3 separate regions of the Homo sapiens genome follow, and all the other regions are linked to region 2. The links are contacts of gene promoters, found by promoter capture Hi-C in blood cells and fetal thymus (Javierre and others, 2016). All regions are on one chromosome and are shown on one strand. The core of a region is centred on a gene start or on the middle of the fragment in contact, and the rest is flanking DNA. Distances in the headings are between cores, read along the strand shown.

What was found. The method cuts DNA at HindIII sites, captures the fragments that hold promoters and counts their contacts. A CHiCAGO score of 5 or more calls a contact.
Region 1: a fragment that was not itself captured here is called in contact with the fragment with the promoter of SERP1 in region 2 in 1 of 17 cell types (activated CD4 T cells); the score reaches 5.8 in activated CD4 T cells.
Region 3: a contact is called between a fragment that was not itself captured here and the fragment with the promoter of SERP1 in region 2, in 1 of 17 cell types (naive CD8 T cells). The highest score is 6.8, in naive CD8 T cells.

What each region holds. Positions count from the first base shown.
Region 1 is chr3:155,851,601-155,856,599 of GRCh38, reverse strand. SLC33A1 (solute carrier family 33 member 1) reads left to right here and starts at 2,173. Exons shown (of 6, transcript NM_004733.4): 1 at 2,173-3,377. The coding sequence starts at 2,603. It overlaps LOC105374174 (a long non-coding RNA gene), which reads right to left and starts at 1,847. Exons shown (of 3, transcript XR_924607.4): 1 at 1,522-1,847. RefSeq lists enhancers at 1,586-2,145, 2,516-2,585. The HindIII fragment of the contact is 1,501 bases long and covers 2,933-4,433 here.
Region 2 is chr3:150,543,813-150,548,747 of GRCh38, reverse strand. SERP1 (stress associated endoplasmic reticulum protein 1) reads left to right here and starts at 2,252. Exons shown (of 3, transcript NM_014445.4): 1 at 2,252-2,696; 2 at 2,970-3,045; 3 at 4,250-4,935. The coding sequence starts at 2,613. The coding sequence ends at 4,290. EIF2A (eukaryotic translation initiation factor 2A) reads right to left here and starts at 1,961. Exons shown (of 14, transcript NM_032025.5): 1 at 1,918-1,961. The coding sequence starts at 1,945. RefSeq lists enhancers at 1,654-2,193, 1,466-2,665, 2,111-2,741. The HindIII fragment of the contact is 4,802 bases long and covers 1-3,485 here.
Region 3 is chr3:157,170,992-157,175,696 of GRCh38, reverse strand. It overlaps LOC101928236 (a long non-coding RNA gene), which reads right to left and starts at 1,997. Exons shown (of 10, transcript XR_007096141.1): 1 at 1,142-1,997; 2 at 308-948. It also overlaps the pseudogene RNA5SP146. RefSeq lists enhancers at 483-862, 149-1,348. The HindIII fragment of the contact is 1,250 bases long and covers 2,746-3,995 here.

The DNA.
Region 1 (4,999 bases), core at 2,434-4,933, 5.3 Mb before region 2:
TATTTGCAATTTCCTGTGAATCTATAATTATTTCAAATTAAAGAAGGGGAAAAAATCAAACACAAGACATACAAACTCATCAAGTATTTCCTTTTTTTTTGGAAAAAAAAAAAACACCTACTGATTGTGAATGGCTTTATTGGCTGCTTCCTTTAACTCCCACAACTCTCTGAAATAGATGTTATGAACTCTATTTTAATTTTCATCAAAATGGAGGCTTAGGTTAAGTAATCTGTCCAAGGCACAACTACTGTTAGAGCCAGGGTTTGAATCCAGCACAATATAAATCCCACTCATGGTTGTTTTGGTTTAATCTTGATTGGACTTAAATGACACCGTTCTTTTCTTTAACACCCAGACTGGAGTGCAATGGCATGATCTCGGCTCACTGCAACCTCCGCCTCCCGGGTTCAAACGATTCTCCAGCCCCAGCCTCCCGAGTATCTGGGACTACAGGCATGAGCCACCACACCCAGCTGATTTTTGTATTTTTAGTAGAGACAGGGTTTCACCATATTGGCCAGGCTTGTCTTGAACCCCTGACCTCAAGTGATCTGCCCGCCTCAGCCTCTCAAAGTGTTGGGATTACAGGTGTGAGCCACCGCGCCCGGCCAACACTGTTCTTTTCTGCAATCTATTCTTCTACTTAACAAAGATTAGAGGACTTTACAGTTGCCTTTTTTTTTTTTTTCCAGACGGAGTCTCACTCTGTCGCCAGGTTGGATTGCAGTGGCACGATCCCGGTTCACTGCAACCTCCGCCTCCCAGGTTCAAGCGAGTCTCCTGTCTCAGCCTCCCAAGTAGCTGGGGCTACAGGCGCGCGCCACCAGGCCGAGCTAATTTTTTGTATTTTTAGTAGAGACGGGGTTTCACCGTGTTGGCCAGGATGGTCTCAATCTCTTGACCTCGTGATCCACCCGCCTCGGCCTCCCAAAGTTCTGGGATTATAGGCGTGAGCCACTGTGCCTAGCCTGCCATTACGTTTGTAATCCCAGCACTTTGGGAGGCCGAGGCAGGCGGATCACGAGGTCAGGAGTTCGAGACCAGCCTGGCCAACATAGTGAAACCCCGTCTCTACTAAAAATACAAAAATTAGCCGGGCGTGGTGGCGCGTGCCTGTAGTCCCAGCTACTCGGGAGGCTGAGGCAGGAGAATCGCTTGAACCCGGGAGGTGGAGGCTGCAGCGAGCCGAGATGGCCCTACTGAACACCAGCCCAGGCGACAGTGTGAGATTCCTCTCAAAAGAAAAAAAAATAATAATCTTTCTGCCAGAGGTGAGAGAGCAGAAAAAAAATTAATCAGATTCTCAAATTCCTGTACGTCTCTTAGTAGAGACGGGTTTCTCCTTGTTGGTCAGGCTGATCTTGAACTCCCAATCTCAGGTGATCCGCCCGCCTCGGCCTTCCAAAGTGCTGGGATTACAGGCGTGAGCCACCGCGCCCGGCCACAAGACGTTTTATTGCAACATAAAAACAGGATGTAACGAGTCTTCCAATCACCAATGTAATTAGAGTTGGTTACCAAGTTTCCCCACGCGTCTTCCACCATGAGGGAGAAACGGACTGCAGACAAACCTAGCACCCCTTGAGCAGTTTAATTCGTACTATAAATATGTAGGCACCGTAAGGACGCGATTCTCCAGTTTGCCAGGCCTTTTTCTATCCTTTTGGGGGCACAAGGCGACCTTGCCTCCTGATTCAAAAACTTCGTAAACGTCAATCCTTCTACCCTTTTCTGGTCAGCCCACGAAAGCAGCAGCATGGCACAACTCCCAGCCTAGAGTTCGGGCACTGCCTGTCGTCAGCATAACGAAGAAACCTACACCCACGAAGACTTCAGACCCCACGTGATTACATCACTCAACCACCAGCGCTGGCCTGGAGGAACCCGCTGTCACGTGACCGCTCGTGCCCAATGACCGAGGCCCACGCTTTCCAGACCGCCACAGTCGCTGTCACAGGGCCTGAGTTTGGGCGGCGCCCCGCCCCGGCCGCACGGTGCGCCGGCGTTAATCCTCCCCGAAGGTTCCGGCAGCCAAGATTGCAGGTTCCCACCAAGCATTGTTTCCGAACTGGGCCACGAGAGCGTGTCCCTGATTGGCTTGCTCTGGAGGCTGGGAAGGGACCTGTTAGAGACTGGGACCACTTCCTGAAGCGCGAGGCAGGAAGTTATATGCTTTTTCTGGAGTCCTGTAGAGAAAGTGCTCTCTGCCGCATTGATAGCAGCGAGAGCTGGAGGTGTTGGGTCGGGAGACCAGCCGTTCGATCCCGCCGCAGGTAGGAGCTGGTTTCCATCCTGGCACCACGGCACACACCTCCAGCCTCGAGCCCGGCGCTGCTGCCCGGGGGTCTCCTTCAGGCTCTTTGACGCCGTTCCAGGGGGCACCTATCCAGGCATCCTCTGGGCCTCTAGCCAGAGGACTGGCTCCCGGCTTCAGCACTCCGGGCTGCAGTAAGAAGTGCCCTTATCGCTCTGAGCCCTGCCACCATCCCGTGAACCACCGAAACCCTGGTCCAGCGCGACAGCCTTGGACCTGGGACTGGACGGATCCAAAACGCTCAGCCTCGGCCCCCCACAGACGGGGCTCTGCATCGTCTCTGATATGTCACCCACCATCTCCCACAAGGACAGCAGCCGGCAACGGCGGCCAGGGAATTTCAGTCACTCTCTGGATATGAAGAGCGGTCCCCTGCCGCCAGGCGGTTGGGATGACAGTCATTTGGACTCAGCGGGCCGGGAAGGGGACAGAGAAGCTCTTCTGGGGGATACCGGCACTGGCGACTTCTTAAAAGCCCCACAGAGCTTCCGGGCCGAACTAAGCAGCATTTTGCTACTACTCTTTCTTTACGTGCTTCAGGGTATTCCCCTGGGCTTGGCGGGAAGCATCCCACTCATTTTGCAAAGCAAAAATGTTAGCTATACAGACCAAGCTTTCTTCAGTTTTGTCTTTTGGCCCTTCAGTCTCAAATTACTCTGGGCCCCGTTGGTTGATGCGGTCTACGTTAAGAACTTCGGTCGTCGCAAATCTTGGCTTGTCCCGACACAGTATATACTAGGACTCTTCATGATCTATTTATCCACTCAGGTGGACCGTTTGCTTGGGAATACCGATGACAGAACACCCGACGTGATTGCTCTCACTGTGGCGTTCTTTTTGTTTGAATTCTTGGCCGCCACTCAGGACATTGCCGTCGATGGTTGGGCGTTAACTATGTTATCCAGGGAAAATGTGGGTTATGCTTCTACTTGCAATTCGGTGGGCCAAACAGCGGGTTACTTTTTGGGCAATGTTTTGTTTTTGGCCCTTGAATCTGCCGACTTTTGTAACAAATATTTGCGGTTTCAGCCTCAACCCAGAGGAATCGTTACTCTTTCAGGTAGTGTATTTAAGCTATTATGGTGTTAGGTTTATTTATCCTTTTGAAAGAGTGTGTGACGTTGGAGGGAAGCTCATTAATTTACTGGAAATCATTGTATGGGAGATAACTCAAGGTAAGTTTTCTGTTTCGTCCAAATGAGCTTCTTTGAAATATTAAAGCCAAAATGAATGATATTAGAGCAATCAAATGATCACTATGCGGTTAACAGGGAGAGGCAACCCATCAAATAACACAACCGAGTCCAGGGATTCATGCCACTTGCTTAATACACAAATGCACACTTTTAAAAAGTGTGGCTCATATGGTTCACATTTTTCCTTTTGTCTTGTTGGTTTTAGGTTTCTAGCTCTATACTTTCTAATCCATTTCTACCCCTACCGTTGTACCCAGAATCCAGCCTTCTAGTGAATGGAACAGGGTTTATTCGTTCAAACATTATTGAACCAGCTAAGGGACGGGATTCTAAGGCCTCTAATGAATAAGGCAGAGTTCTGCACTCAAGAAATAAGGAAGATGAACATTTTAGGAGAGTTCAGAGTTGCCAGTTAGTAACTGCCTTTGGGAGTCAGGCTTCACATTGCAGATAACATTTGACTTTGTTCTTGAATAAGATTCCACGAGGCCAGGAAATGGCACACCAGAATGCACAACACAAAGTAAAAGTGCACTGAGGCAGGAAAGTACAAAAAAGTACAGGACATTGCCTAAATTGTGGAACTGGGTTTGGGAAATCGTGCTGAGAAAGGCTGTGACTAAATTAGTAAGATTTTCTTTAATTACTATGGGAAAAGAGTTTAAAGTTTGTCCTGTAAGTAATGGAGGGTAAGTTCTAAAAAATTTCCCTGTTTCTCTGCATGAGTAAAACACATGTAAGTTTTTCTCTTTTTTCTTTTTTCTTCTTTTTTTTAATTGAGATAGTTGGGGGTCGGGGGGGCTGTCTCACTATGTTGGCCAGGCTGGTCTTGAACTCCTGGCCTCAGGTGATTCTCCCCCTCCTTGGCCTCCCAAAGTACTGGGAATTATAAGTGTGAACCACCCCACCTGGCCTAAGCTTTTTTGTTTGTTTGTTTGTTTTTAACTTTTGTAACAACTAGAAAACAAGTAAAATGACCAATATCAGGAATAACAATGTCAGGAATATAGTGAAATTCTTCATTCTGTCAGTGATGATGAATTTAGGGGATTCTGTTTTGAAATTTAAGCAACTGAACTTCTCAGCTTCTGTGCTACCTTGGAAATTCACAGTAGAGTAAATGTCCAGGTATGTGGTGGTGGTAGGAGGTGTCACAACTACACTATTTTCCTGCAATCTTATTCTCACAGACATCTAACCTTATGTACACCTCCTCAAACTGCTAATGAGTGAGCCACTATTACTGGTGAAATGATGGTGATAGTACTTTTTCCTCAGTTGTTTGGTTGAGAGATAATTGCTTTGCACCCAGGTAGATTTGTCTCAGTGTTCTGGGGTTCCACTCCTGCTTTATGAATAATTCACTGCTGGCCGGGCACAGTGGCTCACACCTGTAATCCCAGCACTTTGGGAGGCTGAGGTGGGAGGATCACTTGAGGTCAGGAGTTTGAGACCAGCCTGGCCAGCATGGCGAAACCCCATTTTT
Region 2 (4,935 bases), core at 1,003-3,502:
TGTAAGACAATTGTCATCCTTGGTTAATTTACTATAAAGTGGCTATCCTTCATTAATTTAAAAGGATAGTCTAAACAGACAAATCTAATCTAGATCTCTTGTATGCACAGTTCAAAATAGGGTTTGCGCTCTTATGAGGCTCTAATGCCCCCACTGATCTGACAGGAGGGGAAGCTCAAGTGGTAATGCTTGCCCAGTACCAGTCCGGCCCAGGGGGTTGGGGACCCCTGATTTAGAGTATCTATTGTCTACCAGGCACTGCACTAGTACTGAGAAGACAGATATGAATAAGACCCTGTCGCTGACATTGAAGGACTCACAGTCTAGCAGGGGAGAAAGGCAAGTGAATGTCTAATTATCCTACTTAGTAAGTGAAATAAAATTTCAAATATATTTCAGGTACAAAAATAGCCCAGGAAGTGACTGACTCTATCTGGGTAGAGTGACGAAAGGCTTCACAGAGCAATGATATCTAAAATGAATTTTAATTTCAACAGATGAAAAAGAGTTTGCCAAATCAACAAGAGGCATAGGATAGTACTAGACTGAAGAAACAGGTTGTTCAAAGGGACTCAGAAGCAGTTCAGTATTGATGGAGCACCAAATAAGATGGGATGGCAAGGAAATAAATGAGTCTCAAGAGCAATTCAAAGATTATAAATGGTTACATAACTATGCTACATAGGATGGAATCTACCCTGTAAGCAGAGAGGAACTACCTACTGTAGGCATTTTTAAAGGAGGGGTTATTTATCAGATTTTAGAATGTAATTTTTTCATTAGAGTTCAAATAAGCATTTAGTATTAAAAATTGTGAATAACAAGCTACCTTTACAAACCTAAAAAAAAATTTATTATGTAACTTTGCCTTTTAAACAGTCTTTGCCTGGTATATTATCTAGAAGATTATACTCGGCGTTTGATAAATGATGACTAAACTGCAGAAGACAGACTGAGCATCAGTGGGCATGGCGCTTAATAACAAAGATTTTAAAATGTAAAAATAGAAATGTAGACTGGCAAAAAGTGCAAAAATGTTTTAAGGTTCCTTTCGCGGGGGGGAAGGGAGGGAATAGCCTCCCTCCTTAAATGCAGACAACCTTTCTCTTAATGACTTTTTCCTTCTATATAGTTATCAGAACTTAACCAAAACCTTCTTTTCCTTCCCGACTCTCTTTTCCTTACGTAATACTCATATGCAGACTCTTAGCCACACCCTAGTAAAGCAACTTCCCCAGCATTTTCCAATCTAAGTTTATTATCTCCTCCAACACTACAGTCTTTAGCTTCAAAATTTCAAGAGTCCTCTAATGTTCTATTTCTAATATGCTCATAACCATTTCAAAATCAAATGTTGCTAGAATATCTCTATCATGCTCACTGCTACACCCTCTCCCAACCACACCTTCATCATTTGAAACCTGCATTACAGCTCCACTCTCCCTATTCAGTCCTACAAACCTCATTAAGGCAGGAAGGCCAGAATCTGGAATTACTTAAGTCCAGGTGTATTTAAAGTGCGTGATCATTCTAGAGGACTAACTCATGTTTGTCTTTGTTCTTATTGTAGACCTAAATGACTTCACAAGGGCCCGTGTAACACCAGTATTGCAGACCCATGTGTCACAAATTCAACTAGCACATTGTTTTTCTCCCCCTTCTTCTATTTCTGTAGAAGATGAATCCGCAGGCAAGAATGATGGATGGGTGAAAGGGAGGGGGAATACGAAAGCCCAGAGGCGGAGACTTCACTTCCGATTGCCACGCTATATCAAGAAAGCCAACAGTCTGGCCTTTCCGCAAGCCACAAGAAAAGGCAGATCAGACTCCCCGGCTCCTCGGGTAGTTCTCAAAGGCAAAGACAAAAATAAGAAACTAGTCTGAAGAAAGAGAGTCCCTCGCTTCTTCAGAACTCACCTGTCAAGAGCGGCGTGGACGGCGCCATGTTGTCCCGGAAAGAGAAACCGCTCGGGTGAGAGTTCACCAGGGCCGAACCCGGCCCCTACACGTCTCCTCATGCGTGGAGACAGCGAATTGGTGTTTCCGGAGCCATCAGCCTCGGGGCCAATTCACTTCCGGTTACGGAGTGACGCGGAAAAGGCGCCCAAACGCGCACGCGCAAATCTAGGGCGACGCTTGACAGAGCTTGGGAGGGTGCGCCTGCTTTCGCCCTCCTTCTCCAGCGGGAGGGGCGCGCACTTCCGCGGGGCGGAGTCCGTCTAGTGCTGACGTTGGCAGCCGAACCCAAAGTAGATCGAGGCGGCGGGCTGCACATTCCCGTTGTTGCGTTGCGTTTCCTTCCTCTTTCACTCCGCGCTCACGGCGGCGGCCAAAGCGGCGGCGACGGCGGCGCGAGAACGACCCGGCGGCCAGTTCTCTTCCTCCTGCGCACCTGCCCCGCTCGGTCAGTCAGTCGGCGGCCGGCGCCCGGCTTGTGCTCAGACCTCGCGCTTGCGGCGCCCAGGCCCAGCGGCCGTAGCTAGCGTCTGGCCTGAGAACCTCGGCGCTCCGGCGGCGCGGGCACCACGAGCCGAGCCTCGCAGCGGCTCCAGAGGAGGCAGGCGAGTGAGCGAGTCCGAGGGGTGGCCGGGGCAGGTGGTGGCGCCGCGAAGATGGTCGCCAAGCAAAGGATCCGTATGGCCAACGAGAAGCACAGCAAGAACATCACCCAGCGCGGCAACGTCGCCAAGACCTCGGTAAGGAAAGAGCGGGCGCCCCTCTGCGTTCCGCAGCCGGAGCTGAGTCCGGGTCCCTGGGGCCGCGTCGCGTTTTCTCCCGGATCCGGCCGACCGTGGGCTGGTGCCGTGGAGGGGTAGGGGCCCGAGTCTGCGAACCGCCAGACTGTGGGGGCTCGGGAACGGAAGGGGAGACCTGTGAGGTGAGGGGGCCGGCGACCGGCGTGCAGGCGTGGGAGCCTGGGGTCCGAGTGGTTTCTCTGCATCTGAAATGGTGGATTTTCGCTTTTGCAGAGAAATGCCCCCGAAGAGAAGGCGTCTGTAGGACCCTGGTTATTGGCTCTCTTCATTTTTGTTGTCTGTGGTTCTGGTAAGTGGCTTGGGGGCTCCCATCAGGTAGAGTCTTGGGTTGAAAGGATTTGGGATGACGTGGTGACCGGTCAGTAGTGAGTCCTACCTGCGTAGTTCTCAACCCACCTGCCGAGGACTCCACATAATTCTGTTTCGTCTGAACCAAATTACTTGTTCCACATATGCACAGAGGGTGGTGCTCCAGAAACTTCTCCCAGCTTAATTTGTACTCACAGGAGATCAAAAAGGAGGTCAGGTCTTGGTAATGATCCAGTTGGAATAAATGTTAAGACCGGACAAAACCTAACGAAATGAGAATTTAGAATGTTTTGTAACTCCATTATCAGTCTTTGCAAAGAAAATTATAAATATGTACTATAGATGTTAGAACTTGATTTAACATATACCAGAATCTAATGTCTTAATGTCAAAATTGAGTATATTTTATAAAATAAAGCTTGTGCAAAGAATTGATTCACTATAGAGGAAATTACCTGATTGGCATTTTAATGTGTGAGTCAAATGTTTTTAGGTTAATAAAAGAAACGTTTGATACATGGTTTAAAAAAAAAGTGTCGGGGTAGCCTGCTGTCCCCTAAGAGTAACAGACACTTGCCTTTGCAAATAGATTACAAAAAAAAGGTCTTTCCTCTCTTCATTTATCATTTTAATATGCAAGCTGTTAATATTGAAGTAGATGTTTGTTTTCCACATTCTAAAATTACTGAGATTTCTGTTTAACGTTTCACTTTGCCTTTCTTCTTCACTTACCAATTGGAAGCTTTCCTGATAAATGGATGAGAGCCAAGCAGTTTATATAACCTGAAGATGATTGAATTTCAGCTTTGTGAGAATGAGGAAACATGCATGTGTTACAGGCCAGGCCTTAAAAGGATGCTTATAAACCAAAATAATTCTATGCTGGAAAAACCTGTTGGCTTTGGTGCTTTAAGTTCTTTGTAAAATGATTACTTATCTGCAAGTTCTCTTGGATACTTAGACATAAAGTTCAGCGAAGCTAAGATAAAAAAATAACTCAGGGATATTTCATTGTTTTATTTATTCAGACAGGCCTGTCTTCACTTCTTATTATACTGAAGTTATGTACCATTTGCAAATGTAAGAGTACCTTTGGATTCTTCAGCTACCTTAATAAATATTTGTTAGACACCAGACCTATTTTATTCAAAGCTTATTTTAATATTTGCTCTTTCTTTTTACAGCAATTTTCCAGATTATTCAAAGTATCAGGATGGGCATGTGAAGTGACTGACCTTAAGATGTTTCCATTCTCCTGTGAATTTTAACTTGAACTCATTCCTGATGTTTGATACCCTGGTTGAAAACAATTCAGTAAAGCATCCTGCCTCAGAATGACTTTCCTATCATGCTTCATGTGTCATTCCAAGGTTTCTTCATGAGTCATTCCAAGTTTTCTAGTCCATACCACAGTGCCTTGCAAAAAACACCACATGAATAAAGCAATAAAATTTGATTGTTAAGATACAGTAGTGGACCCTACTTATTCAGTCAATTAAGAGTAAGTTTTTTTATGTGGTTATTAAAACAGTATGAACAATTAGTCTAACTCTGCATAGACAGGGTCTAGATTTTGTTAACCCAAATGTATAACTGCAGTTAGCTTAAATTACAATTTGAAGTCTTGTGGTTTTTATATAGCTAGGCACTTTATTACTCTTTTGAACTGAAAGCACACTCCCTTATAGGTTCATGTAACTGTCCTGTAATAAGGTGCTTATAAATGGAACAACTACACAGCCTAGTTTTGCCACAACCTTTAGCATCTAAAAAGTTTTAAAAGCTTCTAAATGTCTAATATAAAGGGAGATGCTTATAGCCACAACATCTATTTTACCAATATTGTTTCCATTACACTACCTTGGATTTT
Region 3 (4,705 bases), core at 2,121-4,620, 6.6 Mb before region 2:
TCTTTAGTTTACAAAACGAGTAACCGTTTCTCGAAGCTCTTTAACTGCTTTTTATGCCCCGCCTTTCAAGATGCTATTCCTGGGTAATTCAAATGAAAATTAAACTTAATTAAAATTTCATTAATTTCATCAAGCCAGAATGCGCATTATACTTCCCAGCCTCCATATACAGTTGTCATTTCATATGGCTGGCACTCCACTTTCTCCCAGTTCACACGCCGAGAGAACGCATGAACACAACCCAAAACTTCCAAAGAAACCTAACAGCGAAGACATTTTGCAGTTACTTCCTTTTAACAGAACTCACAGGTTAAAAGGCGATGAACTAGCTCGAGGGGTGCCCGCGTTTTCACCCTTTTAGGAAATGAACAGCTTAAAGGTTTAACTTGAAGTTTCAGGAAATGACAAAATTACTTTTACTTTTCCTCAGACCCAGGAAGAGTCAAGCTCGCGGCAATAGAGCCGAACTAAGACAGAGGATTCTGCGGCTTACGTCACAAGAGGCGGCGCCGCGGAGGACCAAGGGAAAAGACCGCCCTACGCCACGGCCGCGCAAGGGTAAAACGCTAGCGGGTAAGTTAGATCCGGCCGCCGGATGCAGTGGCTGGCGGAGGGATCCTCTCTACTGCAACCACGCGAAGCCGATTGCGCCGCGCATGCGCCGGGAGACTCGGATTTGCCAGTTTTCCGGCTTTTGAGCCGCTCTTCCGGCGAGTCCCTGGGCTTCCGAGAAATGACGAAGTGGGCGGGGTCCTCCTTCTCGACCGTTGTGAAATCAATTCGCCTCCCCCGGAACCTGCTGCCGGGTCTTGCACATGTTCCGTGGCAGAGCTGACCGCGATCGTTCCTGGCTTGGATGCCTTGAGGCTTGGCGCCGGCGGCCGGACCTGCAGGGGTTGCGGGGGACTCAGGCCACTTGTCTGACGGGGCGTAGGCAGCAGACTACCACTGAGCTCCGGGAAAAGGGAAAGGGGAAACTGATCAGCCCCCTCCAGTCACTTACCCCACAGTTAAGCCCTCCAGAAAACCCACCTCCCTGCTTGACCTCTGATGGCCGTTTCAGGGCTTGTGACGATTATGATATCGCCAGAGTCCTTCCGTGAAAATTGGAAATGCCATAATAATACTTAAATTCACTTACCCCAAAACAAGCAGTGTGTTACGAGGTTTATCCAGAAGATGAAGAGCAGAGCAAAAAGCAAATGATAGCCGTGGCTTTCACGTTTAAAAACAGTTCTTAGGCAGCGCCGGGTCGCGGTCCTGTAGTCCTAGCTACATCGGAGGGTGAGGCGGGAGGACTGCTGAAGCCCGGGAGTTCGAGGCCAGCCTGGGCAACATAGTGAGACCTTGTCTCTAAAAAGAAATAAGAAATGTTCCTGAAAGTTTTCATGACAGGGTAGAGTCCAAGCTTTTCCAGCATATGACTTATCTACTGCTACCTTTCTCCCTGAACTCCGTCAGCCCAGGGAAGAATCCAGGTTGGGATTTATGTTTACAGATCCAAAACTAAGCACAAGAGATCTTTAAATCCCATGACAAAACAGTGCCTGAAAGAGCTGACCACCAGATCCAGCTTTTGAGTTTGAAGCTGAGATCGTCCTGCATACAGCAGGATTGAGTGAATGAATATAAATAAATTATAGGTATAAAAACATGGTCCACAGCCACACCACCCTGAACTTGCCCTGTCTTCTCTGATCTTGGAAGCTAAGCAGGGTCTGACCTGCTTAGCTAGTCCTTGAATGCGAGACCACCTTGAAACACTGGGTGCCGCAGGCTTTTGAAAAATAAAATATATATATACGTTTGATCATTCCCTAATTTTGTAATTCTGAAAATTAAGTATACACTAGATATTTTTATATCTAAAGGCAAGACAGTAATCCAGCCAACATTTTACACTGATCCCTCTTTCCCACCTTAAGAAATAATTCAGGTGGGGTTTTTTTTTGTGTTTTTTGTATTTTTTTGAGGCAGCGTTTTGCTCTTGTCACCCAGGCTGGAGTGCAATGGGCGCGATCTTGGCTCACTGCAACCTGCGCCTTCTGGGTTCAAGTGAGTCTCCTGCCTCAGCCTCCTGAAGTAGCTGGGATTAGAGGCATGCGGCACCACACCTGGCTAACACCGCAAACGGGGTTTCACCATGTTGGTCACGCTGGTCTCCAACTCCTGACCTCAGGTGATCCAGCCACCTCGGCCTCCCAAAGCGCTGGGATTACAGGCGTGAGCCACCGCGTCTGGCCAGTTCAGGTGTTTTTTAAGAGATGAGGTCTCCTTATGTTGCCCAGGCTGGACTTGAACTCCTGGGATCAAGTTATCCTCTCGCCTTAGTCTCCTGAGTACCTGGTACTACAGCTGTGCCCAATCACACCTGCCTTAACTGTGTTGTTTTTGAGAGTCCAGTGATAGTATATGAAAATGCTGTGAAAACTATAAAAATCAGGTATCAAATATAAGTCGACTCTCAAGACTAGGATGTAGATACCTCTGAACGTTTCCTGATTGCTGAAAATAAAAGTCTTGTTCTGTGCTATTTTTAAGATGGGGCTGATAAGCAATATCCAGTTATGTGCTGTATGCATGTGCCTGCGTGTGTATGTGCATGTGTGTGTGACAGTGACACTATAAAGAAACAGTTCCCTGAGGCAAAACTAGACTAGGTCTCCAGTGACTTCAATGTTACAATGCACATAGTTTAAATCGAAATTCCCTCTAAAGCACCTTGTGGTAGATCTGGAGAAAGCTTGTTCTTTTAGTACTAAGGTATCATTGTTTTCACTGTGGTAACAAATGCTATACTTGTTCCAGAGAACCAACATTACAGTAGAGCCCTTGTGTGTGGTCATGGAAAGAACACTGGACTGGGCATCAGAAAAACCACCGTTCTAATTTCACTCTGCTACTGGATCTAAAATCTTGGTCGAGTCCTTTCACATCTCTGAACTTCCATTTCTTCACATGTAATGGTCTTTGTTCCTCTCCTGTATGCTCCTGTAGCATTCTACCCTTTCATGTAGCATTCCATGTACTCTATTTGTTCATCACTTTGGTCTTAGTGCCTAGCATAACATAGTTTAGTGAATACTCAGTAGAGATTTGTTAGAGTCATTCTAACTGTACAAAATTTCATTATGGGCCATTTTTCTTTGATACTGATATTTGTTAGAATGCTATTTACTGTGGAAGAATAATCCCATGGATTACTTATTAATTGCAAGGGTGTTAAGGTACTTTTACAATGGAGAAATCTGATGGATACCACCTTAACAAATGATAAAAAGTAGCCAATAATTGAACAAAAAATTGGGCATCGTGTGCCCCTAGATGTGAAGCATGGAGATACAACATTACCTATGGAGTATTCCTTGAAAAATCTTTAACCTGAATCTAATCATGAGGAAATAATCAGACACATCCAAATTTAGGAACATGCTTCAAAGTAGTTGGCCTGGAATTGTGAAAAATATCACAAGACACACACACACACACACACACACACACACACACACACACAAACTGCTATAGAATTTAAACAGACATGACAGCTATACGCAGGGAACTTGATGTGGTGCTGGTTTACTTTTGTTTTATAGTGTTCAAAATAGTTAATGAATGTGTTCCTGGGAGAAAACTAATTAAAATGTGTAGGGAGCTTCGGAATAGCTGATTCTCATTATTTATAAAAGTTTCCTCTTGAAATTCTATTTCTGTTGAATGTTTATTATGAAATAGAAAACATTACTAAAAGGGGTCAGCCACTTCATTGCTCAAAATAAAATTACAACTTAATCCTTAAGAGGAAAATGGAATCATTTTAAAAATGTCATTTCCAGGGACTTGCTAGGTCCTTTCTATTTTTAATTGTACAGGGCTATCTCCAGTCCCTGAAGTCACTGCTCCAGCCCCAGCTACTTCTGTAGCCCTCCTTCTCCTGTTTTCAAGTTTTGTAATTATTAGAGACAAACAATAAAAAGAAATGAACTACTAGAAAAGCTTGAAAAACTAAATGTTCTTAATATTACAGTTTCTGATTTATAGCTCTTGATTTTCTTGTTGAGGTAAACACTGCTTTAAACCCTCCAGAGTTTCTGAGAGTCCCCTAAAATGAGGGTCTGTTCCTCAGCCCTTCACATGCCTGACATGCCTGCCCTCGCCCACCTCTTCAGCCACATTAGTCCCTAGTATACACACGTATGCACCACATTCTAGCACACCACAGTATTTCTTGTGTCAGTCTTTCCATTAAGATGGGTTTAAGATTAAATAAGTAAAAAGGAGTTAAGTGTTCGTGTAACTGAAAATCCCAGCAGTAGAATACAGGGCATGGCTGCAGGGAAATAAACTAAGTGATTGGATTCTGTTTCTAGCTCTGGTCTCTGCTCTTTTCTCTGCTGGTTCCATTCTCCAGCTGGTTCTCTTTTGTGTCAAGATGGCACTCAGTAGCTCTGTGCTTAAATCCTCCTCTCAGTAATCCCAGCAAGAACAAGCACTTCTCTCTCCTCCCCTTGCAAGTGTTCCAGCAAGAGTTCTGGACATGACAGACATTCAGAACCAATCGCTGTGTGGGAGGGAAGGGCGATGGGAGACTCAGATTAGTTCACAAAGTAGGAAAGAGGTTAGTCCTACCCAAACCACTTTTGCTGAGAATGGAGAAGTTGCAGGTCCTCAAGGGAGAACTGAGGAAGGGAGACTGGGCACTGGGCAG